Regions from separate parts of the Homo sapiens genome. Here all the other regions are linked to region 2. Evidence: promoter capture Hi-C in 16 types of primary human blood cells and fetal thymus (Javierre and others, 2016). All regions are on one chromosome and are shown on one strand. The core of a region is centred on a gene start or on the middle of the fragment in contact, and the rest is flanking DNA. Distances in the headings are between cores, read along the strand shown. Region 1 has its middle 7.4 kb from the start of KANK1. Region 2 holds the start of DMRT3 (doublesex and mab-3 related transcription factor 3). Region 3 overlaps KANK1 (KN motif and ankyrin repeat domains 1). Region 4 overlaps KANK1 (KN motif and ankyrin repeat domains 1). Region 5 overlaps KANK1 (KN motif and ankyrin repeat domains 1). Region 6 overlaps KANK1 (KN motif and ankyrin repeat domains 1). Region 7 overlaps KANK1 (KN motif and ankyrin repeat domains 1).

Region 1 (3,364 bases), core at 597-3,096, 480 kb after region 2:
TCCTGACCTCGTGATCCACCCTCCTCGGCCTCCCAAAGTGCTGGGATTAAAGGCGTGAGCCACCTCGCCCAGCCAACTCCATGTTCAACTTTTTGAGGAACTACCAAACTGTTTTCCAAAGTAGCTATACACTTTTAGATTCCTGTTAACAATGTATAAGGGTCCTAATTTCTCCAAATCTTTGCCAACAGTTGTTGTTATCCTCTTTTTGATTATAGATATCCTAGTGGCTATGAAGTAGTATCTCACTGTGGCTTTAATTTGCTTTTCTCTAAGACTAATTATGTTGAGAATTCGTATTGGCCATTTGTATATTTTCTTTGGAGAAATGTCCATTCACATCTTTTGTCTATTGTTAAATTAGATTATGTGTCTTTTTATTATTGAATTGTAAGAAGTCTTTATTCATATCTGATAAGTGATACTAGTCTTTATCTGATATATGATTTAAAATATTTTCCTCCATTCTGTCAGTTGTGGGTCACAAGGAGGACTATCCTACTGACAGCATGCCCATGTTTAGAACCTTTCCTCTCCCTCCTTTCTCATCAAATCTAATTTGTCTTGTGTCCATTGTCTCAGAATTCAGTTAAGCTAATCTAGTATTAATACTGAACATGACCACGCGTTATACAAGCTTTGTAGTTAAAGAGCATCTGCCCTGGTTCCGAGTTTCACCCCATCAGCCCATTTCTGTAGTAGACCTTCGTGTGGTGCAATTAGTTATCTGCTAAATACTTGGAATTGTGTGCAAATAGCAATAGCCCAACTGTTGAATCTCCCCAAGCCTCAAGTTTCTTGTCTGTAAAATGGCAGTAATACCTACCTGTGCCTCTTTCATTAAGTTGCAGTAAGGATCAAACCTCACAGAGTAAGTTGGATCAGAATGAGCCTTGGGTATGCTGCAGGTAGAAATCTCGTGCCCTGAGTTTCCCATCAGGGCCTAAGAGGGTATATGGCAGCAAGGAAGCAAGTCAGGAGGGAGCAAGGAAGACACCCCAGCGAGAGATCCCCGAAGTCATACCAGACCTTTGGGACGGATGGAACTGGGGTGGTCCCTAGAAGTAATTTTCTTCTTTATACTCTTGTGTGTGTGGGTGTGTGTGTGTGGGGGGTTAATACAGGGTCTCACTCTGTCGCCCAGGCTGGAGTGCAGTGGCACAATCACGGCTCACTGCACCCTTGACCTCCCGGGCTCAACTGATCCTCCTACCTCCGCTTCCCAAGTAGCTGGGACCACAGGCACACGCCACCACGCCTGGCTAATTTTTTGTATTTTTTGTCAAGACAGGTTTTGCCATGTTTCCCAGGCTGATCTCAAACTCCTGAGCTCAAGCAATCTGCCCACCTCAGCCTTCCAATTTATACTCTCCTTAATTTCATTTAAAAAAATGGTTATATACTACAGTTATAATTAAGGGTTTTTTGAAAGTTTTTGTCCTTCTCAAATATTTTACAGAGCTGTGAGAGAAGAATTCTTGAACATTAAATGGAAGTCATGGTGGCAAGAGTGTGAGTGTGAGTGTGTGTGTGTGTGTGAAGAGTCACATGCATACCTGAGCACCAATGAGTCTCCCTCAGAGAAAAGGTGAACTGGGGAGGGCGTGCACAGTGGGACAGCTGGATTTGCTACCTGCAGATCCTTTCCAACGCCAACCTTGGAGGCTTGAGATTTACTAAGGAAAGCTGTGTGTTCCCTCACCCTTGCCCATGGTCATACTGCCCTTAAGGAGTCTTCTTTTCCTTTTTTTCTTTTTTTTGAGACTAAATGTTGAAGGAAAAGACCTAATTTATCACAACTTGCATATGATAGCCCCACACTTCTGGTTCCTGGAAACAACTGTTTGAAAGGAAAGGAAAGGACACATTGGTTCATTTGCTTTAGTTATTTTAAAAATCAAGTTACAATTCTGTTTACATTAAGCTGGAACCCTGTATGAATACATTTTCTCCGTGGCTGAAGGACATAATTCTAGTTCAGGAAATTGAGCTAAGAGTAATCTTCATTCATAATTATAATTATTATATCATTGTTACTATTATAAAATATTTATAGAGCATTCAGAATGTGTATGTCATTCTACTAGGATCCTAAGTAGAGGGATTATGTGTACAAACCTGTCCCTGCAGATCCACTTTATTTAGAACATTTATTTATTTATTTACCAAATATTTATTGAAGGCCTGCTGTGCTGAAAGTGCTGGGTTAGGCTTCATAAAGGACAAAAATAAGAATAATCCCAAGAAACTATCTGTCCTTTAAAGGGAGATGATACATGTGCAAAAACAACTTGTAATGCTATTAGACTTTGGCTTGAGAGACATATAAAATGTTGTTATAACTAAAACAAGAATATAATTTTATTTCTTTCATTTATTTATTTATGAATTTATTTATGTATTTATTTATTTTGAGATGGAGTCTTGCTCTGTTGTCCAGGCTGGAGTGCAGTGGCACGATCTCAGCTCACTGCAACGTCCACCTCTCAAGTTCAAGCAATTCTTCCACCTCAGCCTCCCGAGTAGCTGGCACATACAGGCATATGTGCCACCATGCCCAGCTAATTTTTGTATTTTTAGTAGGGATGGGATTTGACCCTGTTGGCCAGGCTGGTCTGGAACTCCTGGCCTCAAGTGATCCGCTCGCCTCGGCCTCCTAGAGTACTGGGATTACATGCGTGAGTCATTGCACTTGGCCAAGAATGTAGTTTTAATAATCAATAATTCTTATTGAGAGCTTACTTCCATGCTTGGCACTGTAGTTAAGTGTGTTCTCTGAACCAATTTACTTCTCCTGTAAGGTAGTCATGATTATTATCTACAGTTTGCAGACAAGAAGAATGGGGCTCACAGAGGTTCAAATAGCTGCAAGAAGCCACAGTGCCAAGTGGTAGAGGCAGAATTTGAACCCAGGTTGCTGGAGGCCAGAGCCAGAAGTCCACCCTGACCCCTTCCAGCTGGGACAGTGTATGCATTGTGGTGTGTGTGTGTGTGTGTGTGTTTAATTATGCTAGTGATGATAACTTTACACTGAGTCACTGTCACTGAAGCTTTTCTTCCTCAGCAAGGAAACCCTGACCTGGTGACCTTTTGATCTTAACCTTATAGCACCATTCTCTAACCCAGCAGGTTTCAAACAACTGAGCTGTCATTTGAGCCTCAGAGCCTTTTCATCAGACAAACTTTAATGGGAGATAAAAATGAAGGTTTTTCTGAACGAAGCTGAATGGGGCTGGGGTGGGGTGGAGGGAGTCTTCCAAGGGAGGCAAGGCATTGCGGGGAGGAAAAGAGACTGCGCCACATGATTATCACAGCTGAAGCCAAATACACTGATGTCAATAAAACCTCATGACCTGATGAAGTT
Region 2 (3,131 bases), core at 617-3,116:
TTGCCACAGTTCTACTTACAGGAGGGCTCTGGACCTTCCCACTCCTAATTCCAGCATGCCCCCTTCCGGGAGAAGGTGGGCTGTGTTCCTTTGCACATTTGCCCCAGTTAAGGAGAAACACCAAACACATATCCACTGAATTCCAAGAGCCATCAAAAGAGCTCTTGAGCTGGGCAGAACCGCAAGCTAGAAATTCCCCAGGAAGAGAGAGACTAAGAGACTCAACTCAGGCCTGCCAAGCTCAGGAGGCCTGGATGGAAACGGATGGGTGGTGGGGGATCAGATTTTTTGTATTCCTTTAAACCACGAAGACAGCTGAGGGCAGCCTGGGGAACAGTGTTAAAGGATCTAGGAGGTTCTGCAAAGGAGTGAATTCTGGGCGCATCAGATTCTTTTCCCGCTATCAGCTCACAAGCCTTTCCGGACCCTTTTACTATCATTGCTAAATGGAACTTATTTCACCAGTTACAAGAGTCTGGAGGCCACGGAGCAAAGCTAGAAAGGCCAGGGTTCTGAGAGTTGGATACTTGTCCTCACTCAAATTTTCCTGGGCCCTGGGCAGGGCCGGGCCGGCCGAGAAGCACAGCCAGCTCGACTCAGCCGAGTGTTGGCCTTGGCTCCTTCCCTACACCTACCTACCCATTCCAACCCCCAAATGGCAAGGACCTCTAAAGCCTGCAGCCAGGAAAATCCGACCCCACCGTAGTGAGTGTGCGCACGTGGGTTTTAATTTTGTCCTGTCTCAACTCCGTTGTCTCCCTGCTCAATCTGACACGTTCCGAACCCTTCAACCTGGGAAGGCACCTGGCGATACTGACGCACAGTCCCGTCGTTTGGCTGCCCGGAGGCGCCTTCCCTGCGGGCGCGAGTGCCACTCGCGCTGGGTCCAGACTCAGCCGGCTTCTCCCGGGAGAGGAAGCCCCGGCCTGGCGGAGAGTAGGAAGGAAAGCCCCGACAGGCCCACGTCCCAAAACTTTGCCTCCAGTCCTCCCAAGTGGAGCTGCAGCTGGCACTCCGAAGTTGCCCCCGCGCCCGGCCAAACTCCCGCACCTCAGACGCTCTTACCTGGCTTGGCGAGCTGCGCCTGCAGAGCCCCGGGCTGCGGCTCGGCAGTCCAACGCAGCGCGGCGGCCGCGGCCAACTCGGCAGCAGGGCGCGGCGGCTGCGGCTGCGACGGCTGAGAGGCTGGCGGCGGCTGCGGGGCGGCGACGGCGTCCCCCGGCGGCGGGGGCCCTGGCAGAGCGCGCAGCGAGTCGGGGATGAGGCTCTCCAAGCTCTCGTTGGCCTGCTGCCGGCGCAGCGCCACCTGCGCAGCCATGACCCGCTGCCGCTCGATGATGAGGATGCACTTCTCGCAGGTGCAGTCCTTGAAGCGGCAGTAACGCTTGTGGCCCTTGAGCCAGGACAGGACGCCATGGTTGCGGCAGCGCGCGCACTTGGGCGTGCGCTGCAGGGGCGCCCGTGGCGGCTGCGACACCGGGCCGCCCATGTACAGGTAGGGGGAGCCGTAGCCGTTCATGCCCCGGGCTCCCGAATGAGTTGGCAGCCTGGCTGCGGGAGAGGGCCAGGGAGCGCTGGACGGCGGGGCTGCGAGGCCCGCTCAGGGGCGGCCTCCGGGCGACGCGGCCCTTGGTCCCGCAGCCCCGGTGGTCGTGTGTGCTCCGGGGCGGCCGGAGGTGCCGCAGTCGTCTCTCCAGCTCCCTTCGCGCTCACAGCTCGGCCTCCCAGCTCACGCCCAGCCAACGCCGACGCGGGCCTCTGCCTTGGGCGCGCAGCCGGGTCGGCACGTCCTCCTTCGCGGAGGCGCTGCGGCGGCTGCAAGGAGCCGGCGACAGCTCTGATTAAGGTCTGAGCCAGCTCTTCTGCAGCTCCCTCGTGAGCCGGCCGGACCCAACACCTCCGCCGCCCTCCCCCAACCCCTCCTCCTTCCCACCGCCACCCCCGCCCCTGGGGTCCCTGTCTCCTTGCACTCCCCGCCCCACGCCTTCCTCCTCCTTTGCGCCCCTCGGGTGCCTGCACTTCACCTTCCTTGCCACCTGCAGCCAGGCCACTCTCGCGGGGGCGCTCGCGGCCCCCTCCTCCAAGCCCTCTCCGCTACCCCAGCCCGCGGCTGGAGACTGCGGCGCTCCAGAACGCGGCGGTGCTCGCGGGGCGGAGAAGGGGAGGACCAGCGGGAGTGAGGGTGGGGGTGCCTGTAAGCGAGTGAGGTGGCCGCTCCGCTTCTCTCTCTTCTCCTCCCTCCAGTCCAGATCTGGCCGCGTTTTTCCGAGCCCAAGGCCGCTTTTATCCCGACATTTGGCCGCAGAAGCTCAGCTCCGGGAGAACTCGAACCTACGGGAGTGTTGCGGTTGCACCCCGGACCTGGGTGGAGTTTAGGATAGGGGAGTGAAGTGATGTTGGTTTAGGAAAGTTAGGCTCTTTTCGTAATTTCCTTTTAGAACGTATTTTTTTCTCTTTTGTTGCTTTAGAAGAAAATGGTTTTGGAGATCTGCCGGCCCAAGGATGACAAGCCATTTTGCAGGCGAATTTTACTTTTCTACCCTCCTGTCCATGTTTTAATATAAAACAGTATCCTGAAAGGTCAGGGACGTACGTGCTCCTGTAAAGGATTTGTTAAGCGCCGGGTATAAACTTTCAAGGGGCAGACACAGAAGCCACATTGGCGCCCCCAAAGTTACCGATATCCTCTTCCCTCGCTCCCAGCAGCTACTGGAAGCAAACGGAGGTCTTGCGCCAGCCACTCAGTTCAAATCCCCACGGATTCTGTGATTCAGTTATGGATATGGGATGGGGCCACTTTTTCACCTCCTTAACCCATAGACCCCAGTCATAGATGTCTTGGGGGAGAGGGTCCTTCACAAGATGACAGCAGAAAACTTTGTTTAGATTATTTGCGTGTTCCCATTCTCCCAGGAGTAGCGGGCTTGGCCTAGTGCAGACTATCGCTATATATGCACAAAGAAGGCCCTCCACCCTCGCACCTCCCCACTGCCCATCAGCAAACAAGCAAAAACCAAAAAACAAACAAACAAACAAAACAAGTGGATACACTGCAGGGCAGCACAATAGCTCTATGCGAAGCGGGGCAGTTCCAGAGCCTTCGGTGGATGCGCTTCTGAGAGCGTGCACCA
Region 3 (3,483 bases), core at 120-2,619, 370 kb after region 2:
ACCCAGCTAATTTTTCTATTTTTAGTAGAGACAGGTTTCATCATGTTGGTCAGGCTGGTCTCAAACTCCTGACCATGTGATCTGCCTGCCTCGGCCTCCCAAAGAGCTGGGATTACAGGCGTGAGCCACCACTCTCAGCAGGAGGTTTCTATTAAAAACAAATGAGATGGTATTTGCAAACTGTCAGACATTGCCCAATTGCATTAGTCCATTTTCACACTGCTATAAAGAACTACCTGAGACTGAGCAATTTATGAAGAAAAAAGGTTTAATTGACTCACAGTTCTGCATGGCTGGGGAAGCCTTAGGAAACTTACTATTATCATTATTTTTTGAGAGAGTCTCACTCTGTTACACAGGCTGAAGTGCAGTGGCACAATCTTGGCTCACTGTAACCTCCATCTGTCAGGTTCAATCGATTCTCCTGCCTCAGCTTCCCGAACAGCTGAGATTACAGGTGTGCGCCACCCGCCCGGCTAATTTTTGTTTTTTCAGTAGAGACAGGTTTCGCCATGTTGGCCAGACTGGTCTTGAACTCCTGACCTCAAGTGATCTGCCCGCGTTGGTCTCTCAAAGTGCTGGGATTACAGGTGTGAGCCACTGCACCCGGCCAGGAAACTTATAATCACGGTGGAAGGCCAAGGGGAGGCAAGGACCTCTTCTTCACATGACAGCAGGAGAGACAGAGAGAGACATGGGTGCAAGGGTGAAACTGCCAAACACTTTTAAACCATTAGATCTCATGAGAACTCCCTCGCTATCAGGAGGACAGCATGGGGTAAACCATCCTCATGATCCAATCACCTCCCATCAGGTCCCTCCCTCAACACGTGGGGATTACAATTTGAGATGAGATTTGGGTAGGGACACACAGCCAAACCACATCACCAGTACAATGTCTGACACATAGTGCTCATTCAATAAATGGTCATTATTAGAATCATCATTATTGTTTACCACGTCTCCAGGAAAGAGACAAATTTAAGGACCAGAATAATCAGAACAATAACGTATTTGGTACTTTGAATATCAGCTGTAACATTAATCTTAGACACTAATTTATTATGAACTGGTACCCCAACTTTTTGCTGAAATCACTGACACTCCATTCTCCTCCCCAAACATAAAGTGAATGAAAAAACAAAGACAAAGAAACCAAGCATGGTAAGGCCAAAATAATTTTACTTTTTTTTTTTTTTTTTTGAGACAGAGTCTTGCTCTGTCACCCAAGCTGGAATACAGTGACGTGATCTTGGCTCACTGCAACCTCTGCCTCCCGGGTTCAAGTGATTCTCCTGCCTCAGCCTCCAGAGTAGCTGGGACTATGGCGCACACCACCACACCCAGCTAATTTTTGTATTTTTAGTAGAGACGGGGTGGGTTTCGCCACATTGGCCAGACTGGTCTCGGACTCCAGACCTCAGGTGATCCGCCCGCCTCGACCTCCCAAAGTCCTGGGATTACAGGTGTAAAGCCACCATGCCTGGCCTACATTTTTTAGAAGAGAAAAATTCAAACGAGTATATTAATTAATGATAGAATCTAAGTAAAATATTTTGCTGTTCTAGAACTAGGGAAAGGTAAGGAAAAAGATGATTTTAGAGTTAAGGAACTGTTAAGAGTAAGAATTACTGAATGTCAATGTGATGTCTCTCTGCATAACTAGGTCTAAAGGCACCAAGAATATGACTTACATTACTAACCTTTACATTAGATGGAAGACACACAAACTGCTCTTAGTGAATTCTTCTGGCTGAGTTATCATACTATGATTAGCTATCAAAGCTACTTCAAGTTCTTATTGCTGCAAAGATAATTTACACATTCAGGGTCAAAGTCAGCCAGCCACGTTTCTGAACTGAAAACAATTCAATACTAGGCTTTATCTGCCAGTTGAGATTTGTGCCACACTCTGACACATTTAACATCATCTCCAAATTAATGTGCCCCAGGGATGGGATGAGTAGGGAAATTTCTTACACAATGCCACGGTCCAGAGGAAAAACATCCTTGAAAAAGATTCATCTTTCAAATCCTGATATAAATCTACTCTTAGATCTATATTCCAAAAGAGAATAAGAGACTCTTTCCCCATATGTAAGAAACAGGTGGTAAGGCCCACAAATGAGCTCTGAAGTAGAACAAAACGCTAAGGAAGATAATTATCACTGTGGATAAATATGATTTGTAACTATGATAACCCCATCAGCCACACGTGGAATGTGCCTTGACTGCATGTTTGGTTTTCACAGAAATAGCTCTTCAAGAGTTGAGATGTAATAGCAAAAATATGAAAAATTACAAAGGAGTCATGCTGGAATCTCATCTAAACAAGATCTATTTTGCAAGAACTAAAAGCGCAGTCAAAAGAAGTTATACTGAATCATCAAGGAGAACAGGCTTTCAATCTAAAATATTTTGTCAATGTCCTCTGACCGTAAAGACTTCACACATAAAATTATAAGGACAAAAATAACTTATCAAAAGTTTATGCAAAAAGAGTTACTTTATTATAGGATGATGAATCTGTAGTTACACATTGTAAATCCAGGTATTTACCTCTATAACTAACCAAAAGATATTCTCATTAAAATATGGAATGGGGGCCGGGTGCAACAGCTCACACCTATAATCCCAGCACTTTGGGAGGCTGAGGCAGGCGGATCATGAGGTCAAGAGATTGAGACCATCCTGGCCAACATGGTGAAACCACATCTCTACTAAAAATACAAAAATTAGCTGGGCATGGTGGTGCATGCCTGTAGTCCCAGCTACTTGGGAGGCTGAGGCAGGAGAGTCGCTTGAACCCAGGAGCGGGAGGTTGCAGTGAGCCAAGACCACACCACTGCACACCAGCCTGGCAACAGAGCGAGACTCCGTCTCAAAAAATAAAATAAAATAAAATAAATAAAAATGGAATGGGCTAAAAATGAGAGTCAGAAACTCAGGAATAGTTATTGAAGGAATGTCAAAAATGTCTGGATGCTAATGCTATCCTATCAATGTAAAAGTATTTTTCCACAAAAAGTTAATCTATTCCATTGATAAAGAACCTATTTTTCTACAGGGTATGTGCATTGATTTTAACAACTCAACATTAAGTGATCAAAATGACTTTACATCAAAGTGACTGACTACCTAGAAGTGTTAAAAACGAGTTTCAGACCTGGTACAACCATGTTCACAGGAAAGAGCTCACCATAAAACTCATGGAAGACAAAAAGCCACCCCAGTTGCAATGTGCACGTCTGGTACTCAGATATTGGTTTCTAAACACCATTGTCCAGTAAAAGGACCCAGGCTCCTTAGGGAAGTGACTGATTCCAAAAGTAGGGCAAGGAAAATACAAGATTAGCCTAGAGCATCAGGGGATGCCATAATGTGAGGAAGTACTTGAAAAAAGATGGAAGCATGTCAAAAGGACATCAGAGTCAGCCTGAAGGAGCTCCCAGTGGCCAAAGCTAGAATAATTTGAAGAAGAAA
Region 4 (3,258 bases), core at 37-2,536, 350 kb after region 2:
CATAAAGTAAGTCCAAGTCAAGGTTTAAGCTTTTAAACTGAAGCCTGTCCGGCTGCACACCCCTTTTCCTCAGAGATGGGCTCTCACTGGTGGCTTGGTAAGGCAGCTATTTTTTTCATTGCGTTTTTAAAGGGGATATTGTTTTTGTTTGTTTTTTGAGACAGAGTCTCGCTCTGTCACCCAGGCTGGGGTACAGTGGCGTGATCTTAGCTCACTGCACCCTCCACCTCCCAGGTTCAAGTGATTCTCCTGCCTCAGCCTCCCGAGTAGCTGGGACTACAGGAATGACTACGCCCGACTAATTTTTGTATTTTTAGTAGAGATGGGGTTTCACTATGTTGGCCAGGCTGGTCTCAAACTCCTGATCTCAAGTGATCACCCACCTCAGCCTCTCAAAGTGCTGGGATTACAGGCATGAGCCACCACACCCGGCCTGTTTTCATCATTGTTTTTAATGCAACTTTTAGGATGCTTCTGATTTTCCTAATTTTATTGAGGAATAATTAATAGAAATTATACGTATTCAAAGTATACAATGTGATTATTTGATATAAATATAGATTGCATATTGATTCCCATAATCAAATTAATCAACACATCTGTCATCACACATAGTTACCCTCTGCATGGAGAGGGAAAAGACTAAGGACGCTCCCTAATCTCCAGAACATATTCATCTTATAAATGAAAGCTTGTACCCTTTGACCAGCATCTCACCGTTTCTCCCATGCCCCAGACCCTGACAATCACCATTCTACTCTTGGCTTGTGGATTCAACGTTTTTATATTCTACATATAACTGAGATCATACAGTATTTGTTTTTCTGTGTCTGGATTATTCCACTTAGCATAATGTCCTCCAGGTTCATCCATGTTGTTGCAAATGGCAGGCTTTCCTTATTTTTATGGCTAAATATTATTCTATCCTGTATATATATACCACATTTTCTTTAACCATTCCTAAGATAAATGGCACTTGGGTTGTTTCCATATCTTTGCTATTGTGAGTAATGCTGAAATAAATATGGAAGTGAAGATATCTCTTTGACATACTAATTTGATGTCTTTTAAACATATATCCACAAGTGGGACTGCTGGATCATATAGTTGATTTTTACAAAACTTCCATACCAATGTCCATAATGGCTGTACCAATTTTCACCCTAATAGCGTACAAGGGTTCCCTTTCCTCCATATCCTTGTCAAAACTTGTTATATTTTGTCTTTTTGATAACAGGCATCCTAACAAATGTGAGATAATATCTCATTGTGGTTTTGATTTGCATTTCTCTAATGATTAGTGATGTCAAGCACCATTTTTCTTTTTTTTTTCTTTTTCTTTTTTTTTTTTGAGACACAATCTCACTCTGTTGCCCAGGCTGGAGGGCAGTGGCATGATCTTGGCTCAATGCAGTCTCGACCTCTTCGGGTTCAGGTGATCCTCCTGCCTCAGCCTCCTCACCTCAGTCTAATGGGTAACTGAGACTATAGGTGCATGCCACCACGCCTAGCTAATTTTTGTATTTCTTGTAGAGACAGGGGTTCACCATGTTGTCCAGGTTGGTCTGGAACTCCTGGACTCAAGCAATCCACCTGCCTCGGCTTCCCAAAATGGTGAGATTACAGGCATGAGCCACCGTACCTGGCAAGCATCTTTTCATTTACCTGTTGGCTATTTGTGTGTCTTCTTTGGAAAAGTGTCTATTAAGGTCCTTTGCCCCACCTCCACTTTTTTTTTTATTTTAGTATTGAGTTGTACGAGTTTCTCGTATATTATGGACATTGACCTTTTACCAGATATATGGTTTGTAGACATTCTCTCCCAGCCTGTATGTTACCTTTTCATTTTGTTGGTTGTTTCCTTTGCCGTGCAGAAGCTTTTTGGCTTGATGTAGTCCCACTTGTATGTTTTTGCTTTTGTTGCCTGTGCTTTGAGGTAACAGCAACAAAATCATTGCCAAGGCCAATGTCAAGAAGCTTTTTTCCCCTGTGTTTTCTTCTAGAAATTATATGGTTTCAGGCCTTACCATTAAGTCTTTCTTTTCTTTTTTTTTGAGATGGAGTCTCGGTCTGTCACCCAGGCTGGAGTGCAATGGCATGATCTCAGCTCACTGCAACCTCCGCCTCCCAGGTTCAAGCCATTCTCCTGCCTCAGCCTCCCGATTAGCTGGGATTACAGGTGCTGCCACCACGCCTGGCTCATTTTTTGTATTTTTAGTAAAGATGGGGTTTCACTATGTTGGCCAGGCTGGTCTCAAACTCCTGACCTTGTGATCCGCCAGCCTCAGCCTCCCAAAGTGCTGGGATTACAGGCATGAGCCACTGCACCCGGCCTCTTACAGTTAAGTCTTAATCCATTTCAAGTTGATTTTTGTATATGGTGTTAAGGGTCCAATTTTATTTTTTGGCAGGTGGATATCCAGTTTTCCCAACAGTATTCTTCGAAGAGACTGTCCTTTCCCCCATTGCGTATTCTTGGCACCCTTGTCAGGATGCTTCTATGCAATCCTCCAGGTACGTACTAGATCCATCTGACATTTAGGTCATTATGCATTTATCATTTACTCCCACTGGATTTTAAGCTTCTTTCCAGGGCAGTGACCATGACTTATTTATCCTGTAGCAGTCTTTCACCACACCTAGAGCAGTGCCCCAACACACAGCGCTTAAGAAGAGCATGAAGTGACAATATACACAGATTATTAACTTCTTTGTGCTCCAAGGGAAGTCTTTTATGGATACTAAAAGTAGAAGTCATTAGTTCCAAATAAATTTAAACAGGTTTCAGGTATTCTTCTACTGACCGAAATTAGACCATTCCTTGTCCCCCTTTTCCTTCCATCCCTTATAAATTCCCATGACACAACAAACGAACAAAAGCTCTAAAAGTAGACTGTTGTATGAAAAAGACCCTGAACCTATCAGTTTAAAGAAAACCTGGAAAAATTTTTAATGAAAACCAAACTTAGTATCTTTTCTTCTCCTCTTCCCTCCTTCCTTCCCAAGAGGCTTCGGCAGCACCAGGGCTCCCCAGAACAAACCAAAGCCCTTTGGTGGAGCATTTGGATTTCATCTCCCATCTGGACTGTACCCCTTCCACCGGCGAGGGCAAAGTTCACATGTGAAGTCTACAGAGTAAGATGCCATGATGGGTAATGTGGGGATTCAGGAACAAGCGAGTGAGTAAGCAGGGCTGGAAACTGAGATTTGAGCTGCGTTTGTGGTAGGCTCTGCTTACGAGATGGGAGGGCAACCCAT
Region 5 (3,405 bases), core at 266-2,765, 420 kb after region 2:
ATTGCAGGCATGAGCCACTACACTCGCCCAGAAATTTGTTTTTAGAGTAACTACCATGCCATTAACAAACCTAACAAAATTAACAATTTCTTATCTTCAAGAACTCAATTCATATTCAAATTTTTATCATCTCAAAGCTGGTTTGTTCAAACAGGAGTCCAAAGTCCCCATACTGCATGTCATTACTGAGACCATACTGGGACTAAGGCAGGGAGGAATGAGCCCTAAGTGAGTCTGTAACAAGCGAGAAAGCAGCTCATTCAACTAAAAGAATTAAATTGGAGGTCTGGCCCAAGAAAGTGGAAAAATAAACAAAGAAAACTAAAACTATTCAGGAACATCATGAAGCAGGGCAAGAGCTAGAGAGAAAAGTACCAAAGGGGCTAGCAATTTGAGTAAGGAGAGTAACTGGACAAATGACAGAATTATCTTAATGGAACAAGGACTTTAGCTTTAAAAATCTCACTTTGGATCAATGAAGTAATGAGAAACAGTTACTAAAAAGCAAAACCGCATAGTCATTGTATCTAATTCCTCAAATTTTAGTTTCATAAGCACCTTTGTACATCATAGCACTTTAATAATTATAAGTTTAAAATGATCATGGCTAACTCCATGAGACTAAGATCTGGATCTGGCTGACTCCAGAGACTAAGACTCACCACGTAGTCAGAGGAGAGCACAACTCAGAAACCAAGGTTCCCTAAGTCTTCCCTGGGAATCACTAAACTCACATTGAACTTCTAACTGCATCAGATACAGACACATACAGAGAAAAGTTTTATATAAGCAATGCATGCTCGTTAATTAAAAAAAGAAAATTAACCAAGATAAATTCTAATACTTCTCACTTTTTGAGGTTTATTATCAGAAATAGCTCTAAAATTTCTCCTCCTCTTTAAAATAAGATTTTTTAAAATGCTTCTGTATTCAGTTACAATTCTTTGGGTATTTTCCCCCCAAGGTAGAGCCAAAACAGACTGTAGAGAAAGAAGAAATAAGAACTACAACTTAGTACCCCACCAACAACTTTGCAGCAGTATTTTATAGTATGATTAAAAAGTCATTTTAAGTATAACTCTGAAAATGTTTAATGATTACTTTAAATGTGAGCACTGATGTTTGTCTACACAAGTTAATGATGTTATTATAACATCATGAAGGTTAAAAGTTGTTTGTTTTTATTTAAACAGAAGGGGTTGTCGGCATCTTTATCACCACTAAAGGTAGTTTTAGCATTTCAAAGGGATTTTTTCCTAATTGTATTTTGAGAAACACATTTCTAAAAACACGTATGTACTAGGAACTCACAGATCTTGTCAAATTGAATATTTCATATTCCAGTACAAGTCTGGACACATCAAATCTAAAGGAATTTCTTAAGGCTTAGTAAACCAACCTCTGTGATTTCATCTCCAGCCAAATGGGAATCTTACGCTTTTACAGTTATTTCAGCTAATTCTCAGTCACTGCAAGAAGACAAACGCAGCAAAGGTTGGATGCTGAAACATTCCAGAAAAAGGATAATCCCCATCATATACAAACTATAGTATTTTACCTAATTGGTATCTGAATCCTGATTTATGTTCACTCATTTGATTTATTTAATTTAGCAGTATAGTGACTATGCCATATACATAGCAGACTGAGTGGAAGAGTTTATCATCACAAAGCTGACACTGCACAGTTTGCACATCTAAGTCACGTGCCATCATGTACATGGTGTGGAAGGTAGGGGAGGCAGGTGTCCCCACTGTCTTCCCAATAGTGGTGATGGCTCCATAGAGTCATCGTATCACCCTTGACTCTTCAGGACTTCAGATCGCCATCCTGCTTTGGATTACTGACGTGGTATAAGACTAGGAAATGGCTTTCTCAGGGATTAGCTACTGGCCAGCTCATTTCACGAGCACTTATTACTATCCAGGGGTTCTACTGTCTTATGACTTATTAGTTGTTCTCAAAGTGTGGTCGCTAGGCCAGCAGCAGAAACATTACCTGGTATGCAGGTTAATTTCACGTGCCAACTTGACTGGGCAAACGGATGCCCAGGCAGCCGGTAAAACATTACTTCTGGGTGTGCCAAGAAGAGATCAGCATTTGAATTAGTAGACTTCACTAACTCTCTTCCTGTTTGCCCTGAGAATACTTGCCCATGGTGCTTGCAGCTGCAGTGTTTACCCCAAGATAACCTTGCCACGAAAGATCTCGTTTTTTAAATTTTCACATCGTTCTAGTATATCGACTTTGGAAACAAAAGACATCATCCTATTTATAGGATTCTGTTTTTAGTAGTGGCATTTCCATTTACAAAATATAGTAATTCTCAATTGCTGAAAATGTCAAATCCTAGAAAACATAGCATTCCTATGAGTGATGTTAACATCGTTCTCTAACAGTTGATGGAAGATTCATTTGATGAATCCGATTTTTCTGAAATAGATGATTCTGATAATTCAGATGGTTGTGATGTTAGTTCTGTTTAGAAATAATATTTTCTATTTTATTTTCACACTGAAAATCAGTCCGATTTGCTTTAGCCTCCAACAGCCTGTTTATGTAAAATTAAATAAGCACTGGCCACAAACCGCACTTTTTTTCTAAGTGGGAAAAGGGTTAAGACCGCCAACATGGATGCTCATCAGTGTGGATGGGTGTCATCCAATCAGTGAGGGCCAGAATAGAACAAAAAGGGAGAGGAAAGGCAAATACTTGCTCTCTGCTTGAGCTGGAACTTCTATCTTTTCCTGCCCTCAGACATCAGCGCACCTGGTTCTTGGATCTTCAGACTCAGATGGAGATGGAAACTTACGCCAGGTGCTCCCAGGTTCTCAGCCCTCAGACTCAGACTGAATTACACCAATGGCCTTCTTGTTCTCTAGTTTGCAGATGGCAGATCTTGAGACTTCTTGGGGAACATCCTGGGACTTCCTGGCCTTCGTAATCACATGAGCCAATTCCTATAATGAATCTCCTTCCTAATATACCTATGCTGTCTCTTTGGAGAACCCTCATACAGCTGGTAACTTGTCAAAAATGTACATTTGTACGCCAGTCCCAGAACTCCTGAATCAGAAGGTCTGGGGTTGGAGCCCAGCTATCTGTGTTTTAACATAATGCTCCAGAGGACCCAAATGCACGCTAAAGTTTGAGAACCACTGCTATAAATTATATTTTTTTAAATGAGCATTCATTCAGATTTCCATTATATTTGGGTTTAATTTCCATTAAACCTATTAAGTACAGGTTATTTTCTAATATTTCTTAGTATAGATTTTGTAATATTCCTATAAAAGTAAATTCGTATAGAGGGAAGCTTTGAATTTACCAAAGTTCAGTAGAAGAGGGTGACTAATATGAAACTGAACAATTGGCTTATATTTTTCTCATACTTCATCTCTGGAA
Region 6 (3,157 bases), core at 283-2,782, 340 kb after region 2:
ACAAAAGTGACCTTATGCACTACCAAGATTAGCAAAATCAAACACTTGTTCAAAACCAGGCCTGCCAGCTAAGCTCTACTCTTCTTGTAGTTTTTAGTTTGTTCAAGTGTAAGTCAATTTAGAGAAGCTGCTGTAAAAATAATGTCGACTTTTTAAGGTTAGGGAGGATGAGGAAATGGCTTTTTGTATGTGACCCTCAAAGGTTATTCCCTTCCGCTATCTTTGTAAAACACAAATGGGGTAACTTAACCACGCAGTTTTCTGCAGACTCATTTATTCTACGACCTTTCATGCTTTTATGATACAGAGGTAACAAGTCAGGAAGCACAATGAGGAAAGAGGTTAAAAAGCCCAGCATCTGCCGTGTCAGAAGTAAGCTGGTTTAATCCGCACAGAAATCCAAGCCAACAGTTCATGTGAGCTCAAGCTTTCTGACTATGGGCATCCTATCTCCAGTTACAACACAGTATTTAATATACCCATGGACACAGAAAGTAGAATAATGATTGCCTAGTGCTGGGGGGTGTGTGGTGGTTGGGGAGGAAATCGGCTTTTGATTGCCAATGGGTATGGGTTTTCTTTTTTGGGGTGATGAAAATGTTCTAATGTTGTTTATGCCAATGGTTACACGATTATGTTAATTTACTAAAAACCATTGCATCGTATACTTTAAAGGGTGGACTGCATGGTTTGTGAATTATACCTTAATAAAGTAGTCCTTAAAAAACCAAAATGTATGAATTTCCTTGTCATTACGATCAGGGTAAGCTGGTAGCTGAAGGTTAAGACAGGATGAAAAGGTGTTACAAGAAATGGCAAGAGAGTAAGATGTAAGATAGGTAGAGAAAAAAATCACTGTGTTCTTTCTCACTGAATCATTCCTCCATCAACAAAGGACACAGGCTACGCTTCCTTGCAGTTAGGATTTGAGGATGCCTCTGTTCCGAGTTTCTTCAGTACAGGGTAATATGCCTTGGAATCCCAACGCTTAGAACTCCCTAAACTTTGTGCAGCAGCTCCATTTGCATGTTGTTCATGGTGGTGGAGATGATCTTAGCCATTTCATAAAAGAAACCTGTCTCTTGGAAAGGATATACAGAGTACTAAGAAACAAGGATCACCACCAAGATGGATGTTCTACTTTCCTTCCAATGACCAAAGCAGGTATCTGATAAGGAGGATTCTTCTAACTCAGGAAACGACGATTAGGTAAAAGACTTTTATTTGTTTATCTGATAAAGACAGATTATACACATTCATGTCCAGACTATCCTTAAACATACTGTTCATATCTGATTGCATTAATTATCAGTTCCATGGGAGAACCCAGTTTCTTACTGCATTTCTCACCATCACAGGGCTTCTTCCCACACTGGACTACATTTTTCAGGCTTGAAGTATATCACTGGTATAAATGGAAAATTGGTTTGGGCTATCAACATGGCTCTTGGCAGCATCTATTTAAAAACTGACATCAAAATTTAGCTCTCTCTTTTAAAATTTCACTGCAACACAGACATTTAAAAGTGGTGGCCAGGCGCGGTGGCTCACGCCTGTAATCCCTGGACTTTGGGAGGCCGAGGCGGGCAGATAACAAGGTCAGGAGATCGAGACCATCCTGGCTAACATGGTGAAACCCTGTCTCTACTAAAAATACAAAAAATTAGCTGGGCCTGGTGGCGGGCACATGTAGGTCCAGCTACTCGGGAGGCCAAGGCAGGAGAATGGTGTGGACCCGGCAGGCAGAGCTTGCAGTGAGCCAAGATTGCACCACTGTACTGCAGCCTGGGCAACAGAGCAAGACTCCATCTCAAAAAAAAAAAAAAATTAGGCCGGGCGTGGTGGCTCACACCTGTAAACCCAGCACTTGGGGAGGCCGAGGCAGGTGGATCACCTGAGATCAGGAGTTCAAGACCAGCCTGGCCAACATAATGAAACCCCATCTGTACAAAAATACAAAAATTAGCTGGGCATGATGGTAGGCGCCTGTAATCCCAGCTACTCAGGAGGCTGAGGTGGAAGAATCACTTGAACCTGGGAGGCGGAGGTTGCAGTAATCCGAGATTACACCATTGCACTCCAGTCTGGGAGACAGAGACTGACTCTGTATAAAAAAAAAAAAAATTAGCTGGGCGTGATGGCATGCACCTGTAATCCCAGCTAATCGGGAGGCTGATGCAGGAGAATCGCCTGAACCCAGGAGGTGGAGGCTGCAGAGAGCCGAGATCACACACTCCAGCCCAGGCGACAGAGCGAGACTCTGTCTCAGAAATATAAAATAAAATAAAAATGATGTGTGCCCCCCAAAAAGGAGTTTCCATTCAGATGGACTACCCCTGCCTGAGCAGTGAGAATGAGAAGCCAAGAGTCTTTAACCTCATGAAGCATAGAGTTGGGAATACAAACTCTTGGTTTCTTAACTCAAATGTGGAGTTATCCTAAAATGAAGCTGAGTACAACGAGGTCTGAGAGACTGCTATGGTTCTCAATGTTTTGTGTCTCCCAAGATTTACATTTTGAAACCCAACCTTCAACGGGATGGCATTAAGGATGGGTCCTCTGGGAGGTGATTAAATCATCAGGGTAGAACCCTCACAAATGGGATTAGTGCCCTTACAAAGGGTTTGAGGAAGCTTGTTAGCTCTTTTGCCCATCTGCCATGTAAGGACATAGAAGGCACTATCCTTGAGGAACAGGCCCTCACCAGATACTGAATCTGCTGTCATCTTGATCTTGGAATTCCCAGACTTCAGAACTGTGAGCAATAAATTTATGCTGCTTATAAATTACACAGTCTGTAGCATTTTGTTACAGCAGCCTGAATGGACTAAGACGGAGACTTTACTTACAGCCTGAGACACACACAGAAGGCAGAGGGTGTGGCACTGTTTGGTAAATCATCTAAGATCAGGCCAGGCGCAGTGGCTCGTGCCTGTAATCCCAGAACTTTGGGAGGCCGAGGTGGGCAGAAGACTTGAGGCCAGGAGTTCAAGACCAGCCTGGCCAACATGGTGAAACCCTGTCTCTACTAAGAATACAAAAACTAGCCAGGTGTGATGGTGTGTGCCTGTAATCCCAGCTACTTGGGAGGCTGAGGCAAAAGAATCCCTTGAGCCAGGGAGGAGGAGGTTGCAGATCGTGCCACTGCACTCTAGCC
Region 7 (3,261 bases), core at 80-2,579, 390 kb after region 2:
ACTTCATGATAGTTATAAAGAAAAAAACGATATGTTATCTTAATTATGTAAGGCCAGAAATTACTGCAATAAATATTTCAACTCCGTGGACAATTTCCTAGTGTGATCAAAAGATGAAAGTAATTCACTAGTTCAGAAGTCCATCCAGTATAGTGACCATCATTCTGAAAGGAAAAAGAAATGTTTTTGAGGGAAATGTAATGGAACAATACTCATTTTTAGGCTTGAGATCTGCAGGAGAGGGGAATCAATACTAGAGACTGCTACGCATTTTGGAAATCAAAGTACAGTTAAGCCACTTTCCTGCTGGGGGTGCAGGGGCAGGCCAGAATAAAAGGGAGCCTAAGATATCATGCAAAGAGTCCCTTTTGCTTTAGGTAAAGGCTAGCTATTTGCTCTCGTGACTCTCCACCACTGCAAAGAAAAGCGCTGGATCCCTCATAGCTTTCCACCTTCTGTTCTGTTCTCCTCCTCCGTGTGTTTGGTAGTACAAACATAATTCAGCACATGCATACCACTCTATTTTTATGTATTTTTTAATGTCTATCATACTTACTCAGACCACTCCATAACACACACATGGCTTTTCTCCTAAAACTGTTAATGGCAGTTCCCTGGGACTAAAACCTCGGAACTGTTTTCAAGTCATCTCTCTCGTCATTACCTTCCACTAACAGTCACCACCACTTTCCCCGAATGTCCAGCTGCTCTCTACCCCTTCTTTTTCACTCCTATCACACTGCTGAACCCAACTTCCTTGGCATACCTCATCTGTTTATAACAAGAGCCTCTAACTTGGACCCTCTGCAGATCACAGCCTATCCACTCTCTCTTACAGAGAAATTGCTTTCATCCTATTCCTGTAACCTTGAATAGGCCTGGGCCCATCCCCTTGACTGTAAAATGAAGAACTGGTCTCAACATTCTCCATCCTCACTGTGCTTTGAAGTCAGATGTCACTGGGCATGAATCCTGGTCCAGCCACTCTGCCAAACTTAGACAAGTATGTCTGCTCAAAATTCCATCTCACTATGCATAAAATGGGAACTAGTACATCTACTCCAAAGCTTGCTGTAAAATAATAATGACATCTTATGCCTTACAGATCACACAGCAGGTACTCAACAATATTGCTTATTCCCATCCCACCTTACAGAATCCCACAAACTTTGAAGTTCTCTTGTCTTATAACTTCCAAACCTAACGTTTTCTTACATCTACATCCCTAGTGATAATGATTTTCTCTTCCATCACATATAAACTCCCCTGTTGACCTTCAGTTCTTCCATTATCTATCACTACTTTATCTTCCTTTAATTTCCAATAAACGTCTTCTATTCAATCAGATTAGTCTGATCATTTTCCCAAGAACAAACACTTACACCCTGCCTTTGTGCCCATCAGTTCCCCATAGACTTTTCTTACCCCCTCTTTCAAGGCCCAGTTTGAATCCGAAGCCCCAGCAATGCCGACCTCGCAAACAATTTAACCCTCACACAATGCCTTAACATTATTGTCTACTCTTCCATGTTCACCAAGATTAGCTGTCCAGCTGACAAAGACTATTTGGATTATTCTAAGTTAAGCTTTTTACTTCAGTGTGGATTGTATTAGAGTTTTTACAAACTACATATTTTTTGGATCGGTTCTGTCAATGCTTTTTGAAATTCATAGGCCTTTGTGCCTTAAGGTAAGCGTCTTTTATTAATTCCATCATTTTTATTTGAGGCTGATACAAGGAGCTTGTTCCATCATCAATGGGTAGACCATTGGTAGACAATCTGACAGCTGTCTCAGGAAGCCAGATATGAATTCTAAGTATGTCCAATGTCTGTCAGATTTTGTGACAAAGTGAACGTGTTCTAATTGCAAGTACCATTTTAAGACCAAACTCTCAATGGCAGCAAGGATGATGCACAGCGGGCAAAGATGACTTGTTGCTAGAGTTTTACCTGAAGATGATGGTTGAAGCTCCAGGGGTAAATGAAAGTTCTAAGGGGAATCAGTAGAAGACACAGTGAAGGGTCAAGGGACATGGAAGAAGACACTGAGTGGTTACAGAGGCAGGAGAATAACCACAAGGGTGGAGAGGCACACAAGCCCAAAGAGAGTTGAGTAACACATCAAATGCTGCAGATAAGGACAAAATGTCACTGGGTTTAACAATAAGGAAGGGGGTCACTCATGACCCCTAAGGGCAGTTTTCAAAATGGCAGATACAGGATGCTGACTGCAAGGCATTGAGGAGAAACTGGGAGGAAGGCAAACGGAAACAAGCAGAGACTTCCTGCCAAGAACTTTGGCTCTCAAGCCAAAAGGTTTGTGCTGGTCATTTTCTAACCCTGAACTTAACAGCTCAACCAAATACCCAAGCTTGCTCTTCTTCCCTTGGTCCTCACCTGTCCATGTGCAGCGAGCCTGAAAGCTGAAGATAACTGACAGTTGACTGCAAACCCTTCCCGCCTTTTCTCTTCCAGCACCATCCTCACATGCCTGGTTTTGGTTCCCTAACAAATCTTACAGAACTATTCAACAGCTCTATGTTATCAAGTCTCAAATGCTAAGTTATATTCTTCTTCTGCTGTAGGTAAATGATAGTTACTTATTTAACATAAAAGGAAAGACACCAAAATGTGTCAAATCAACAGAACAGAAGTCTAGGTTCAGATCAAATACCATATTACTATCTTTGGATAACCTATGTAATTTATGCTGAATTATTAAAAAATAATTTTTCTTCCTTCAAAGTAGTACTTTGTTCTTTACTGTAAGTTCATAAAAATCAAAGAAAAAATAAAAATCATGAGGATAATTAGCACTTTGTTGAACCGCCTTCCACTTTTATATGTATGCATGACACATAAACATAATACACAAATGTGTAAGTGCATGTAAGTTTCACTAAAAGTAAATCATATGATATTACTTGTAACTTGTTTTTCCCACTTATTCTGATAGAAATTCTGTACCATTTAATAGTCTTGTATGCTTTCATTTTTAATGACTGATCAATAATCCATTTTAATAAATTCCCTTGAAGCACTTAAGTCACCTCTTATTTTTGATTATATATGTAATGCTGAGAAAGATATCCTTCACTATACCATCAAGTATTTGCCTGGGATAAGGTCAAGGTCAAATGTACAGAAAATGTGAGGATCTGATATTGTTAATTTGCCCTACACAATGTTTGACCCAGTGGCACATGACAATACCCACTCCTCCACACCCCCTCTAACAATGGGTAATGTTATTTTTTAA

The links. The method cuts DNA at HindIII sites, captures the fragments that hold promoters and counts their contacts. A CHiCAGO score of 5 or more calls a contact.
Region 1: a fragment that was not itself captured here is called in contact with the fragment with the promoter of DMRT3 in region 2 in 1 of 17 cell types (monocytes); the score reaches 5.3 in monocytes.
Region 3: a contact is called between a fragment that was not itself captured here and the fragment with the promoter of DMRT3 in region 2, in 1 of 17 cell types (monocytes). The highest score is 6.0, in monocytes.
Region 4: a contact is called between a fragment that was not itself captured here and the fragment with the promoter of DMRT3 in region 2, in 1 of 17 cell types (monocytes). The highest score is 6.6, in monocytes.
Region 5: a fragment that was not itself captured here is called in contact with the fragment with the promoter of DMRT3 in region 2 in 2 of 17 cell types (monocytes and M1 macrophages); the score reaches 6.2 in monocytes.
Region 6: a fragment that was not itself captured here is called in contact with the fragment with the promoter of DMRT3 in region 2 in 1 of 17 cell types (monocytes); the score reaches 6.7 in monocytes.
Region 7: a fragment that was not itself captured here is called in contact with the fragment with the promoter of DMRT3 in region 2 in 1 of 17 cell types (monocytes); the score reaches 5.3 in monocytes.

The regions. Positions count from the first base shown.
Region 1 is chr9:495,606-498,969 of GRCh38, reverse strand. It overlaps a transcript of KANK1 not described here. Among named protein-coding and RNA genes, the nearest start is that of KANK1, 7.4 kb to the left of the region's middle. The HindIII fragment of the contact is 2,413 bases long and covers 640-3,052 here.
Region 2 is chr9:975,390-978,520 of GRCh38, reverse strand. DMRT3 (doublesex and mab-3 related transcription factor 3) reads right to left here and starts at 1,866. Exons shown (of 2, transcript NM_021240.4): 1 at 1,066-1,866. The coding sequence starts at 1,519. RefSeq lists enhancers at 1,699-2,198, 2,199-2,700. The HindIII fragment of the contact is 15,659 bases long and covers 1-3,131 here.
Region 3 is chr9:601,679-605,161 of GRCh38, reverse strand. All of the region lies in intron 1 of KANK1 (KN motif and ankyrin repeat domains 1), which reads right to left. Among named protein-coding and RNA genes, the nearest start is that of KANK1-AS1, 82 kb to the left of the region's middle. The HindIII fragment of the contact is 5,861 bases long and covers 1-3,483 here.
Region 4 is chr9:621,698-624,955 of GRCh38, reverse strand. All of the region lies in intron 1 of KANK1 (KN motif and ankyrin repeat domains 1), which reads right to left. Among named protein-coding and RNA genes, the nearest start is that of KANK1-AS1, 62 kb to the left of the region's middle. RefSeq lists an enhancer at 2,420-3,258. The HindIII fragment of the contact is 1,186 bases long and covers 694-1,879 here.
Region 5 is chr9:553,660-557,064 of GRCh38, reverse strand. All of the region lies in intron 1 of KANK1 (KN motif and ankyrin repeat domains 1), which reads right to left. Among named protein-coding and RNA genes, the nearest start is that of KANK1, 51 kb to the right of the region's middle. The HindIII fragment of the contact is 3,607 bases long and covers 1-3,318 here.
Region 6 is chr9:639,370-642,526 of GRCh38, reverse strand. All of the region lies in intron 1 of KANK1 (KN motif and ankyrin repeat domains 1), which reads right to left. Among named protein-coding and RNA genes, the nearest start is that of KANK1-AS1, 45 kb to the left of the region's middle. The HindIII fragment of the contact is 2,206 bases long and covers 430-2,635 here.
Region 7 is chr9:583,918-587,178 of GRCh38, reverse strand. The region is part of intron 1 of KANK1 (KN motif and ankyrin repeat domains 1); the gene reads right to left. Among named protein-coding and RNA genes, the nearest start is that of KANK1, 81 kb to the right of the region's middle. The HindIII fragment of the contact is 519 bases long and covers 1,070-1,588 here.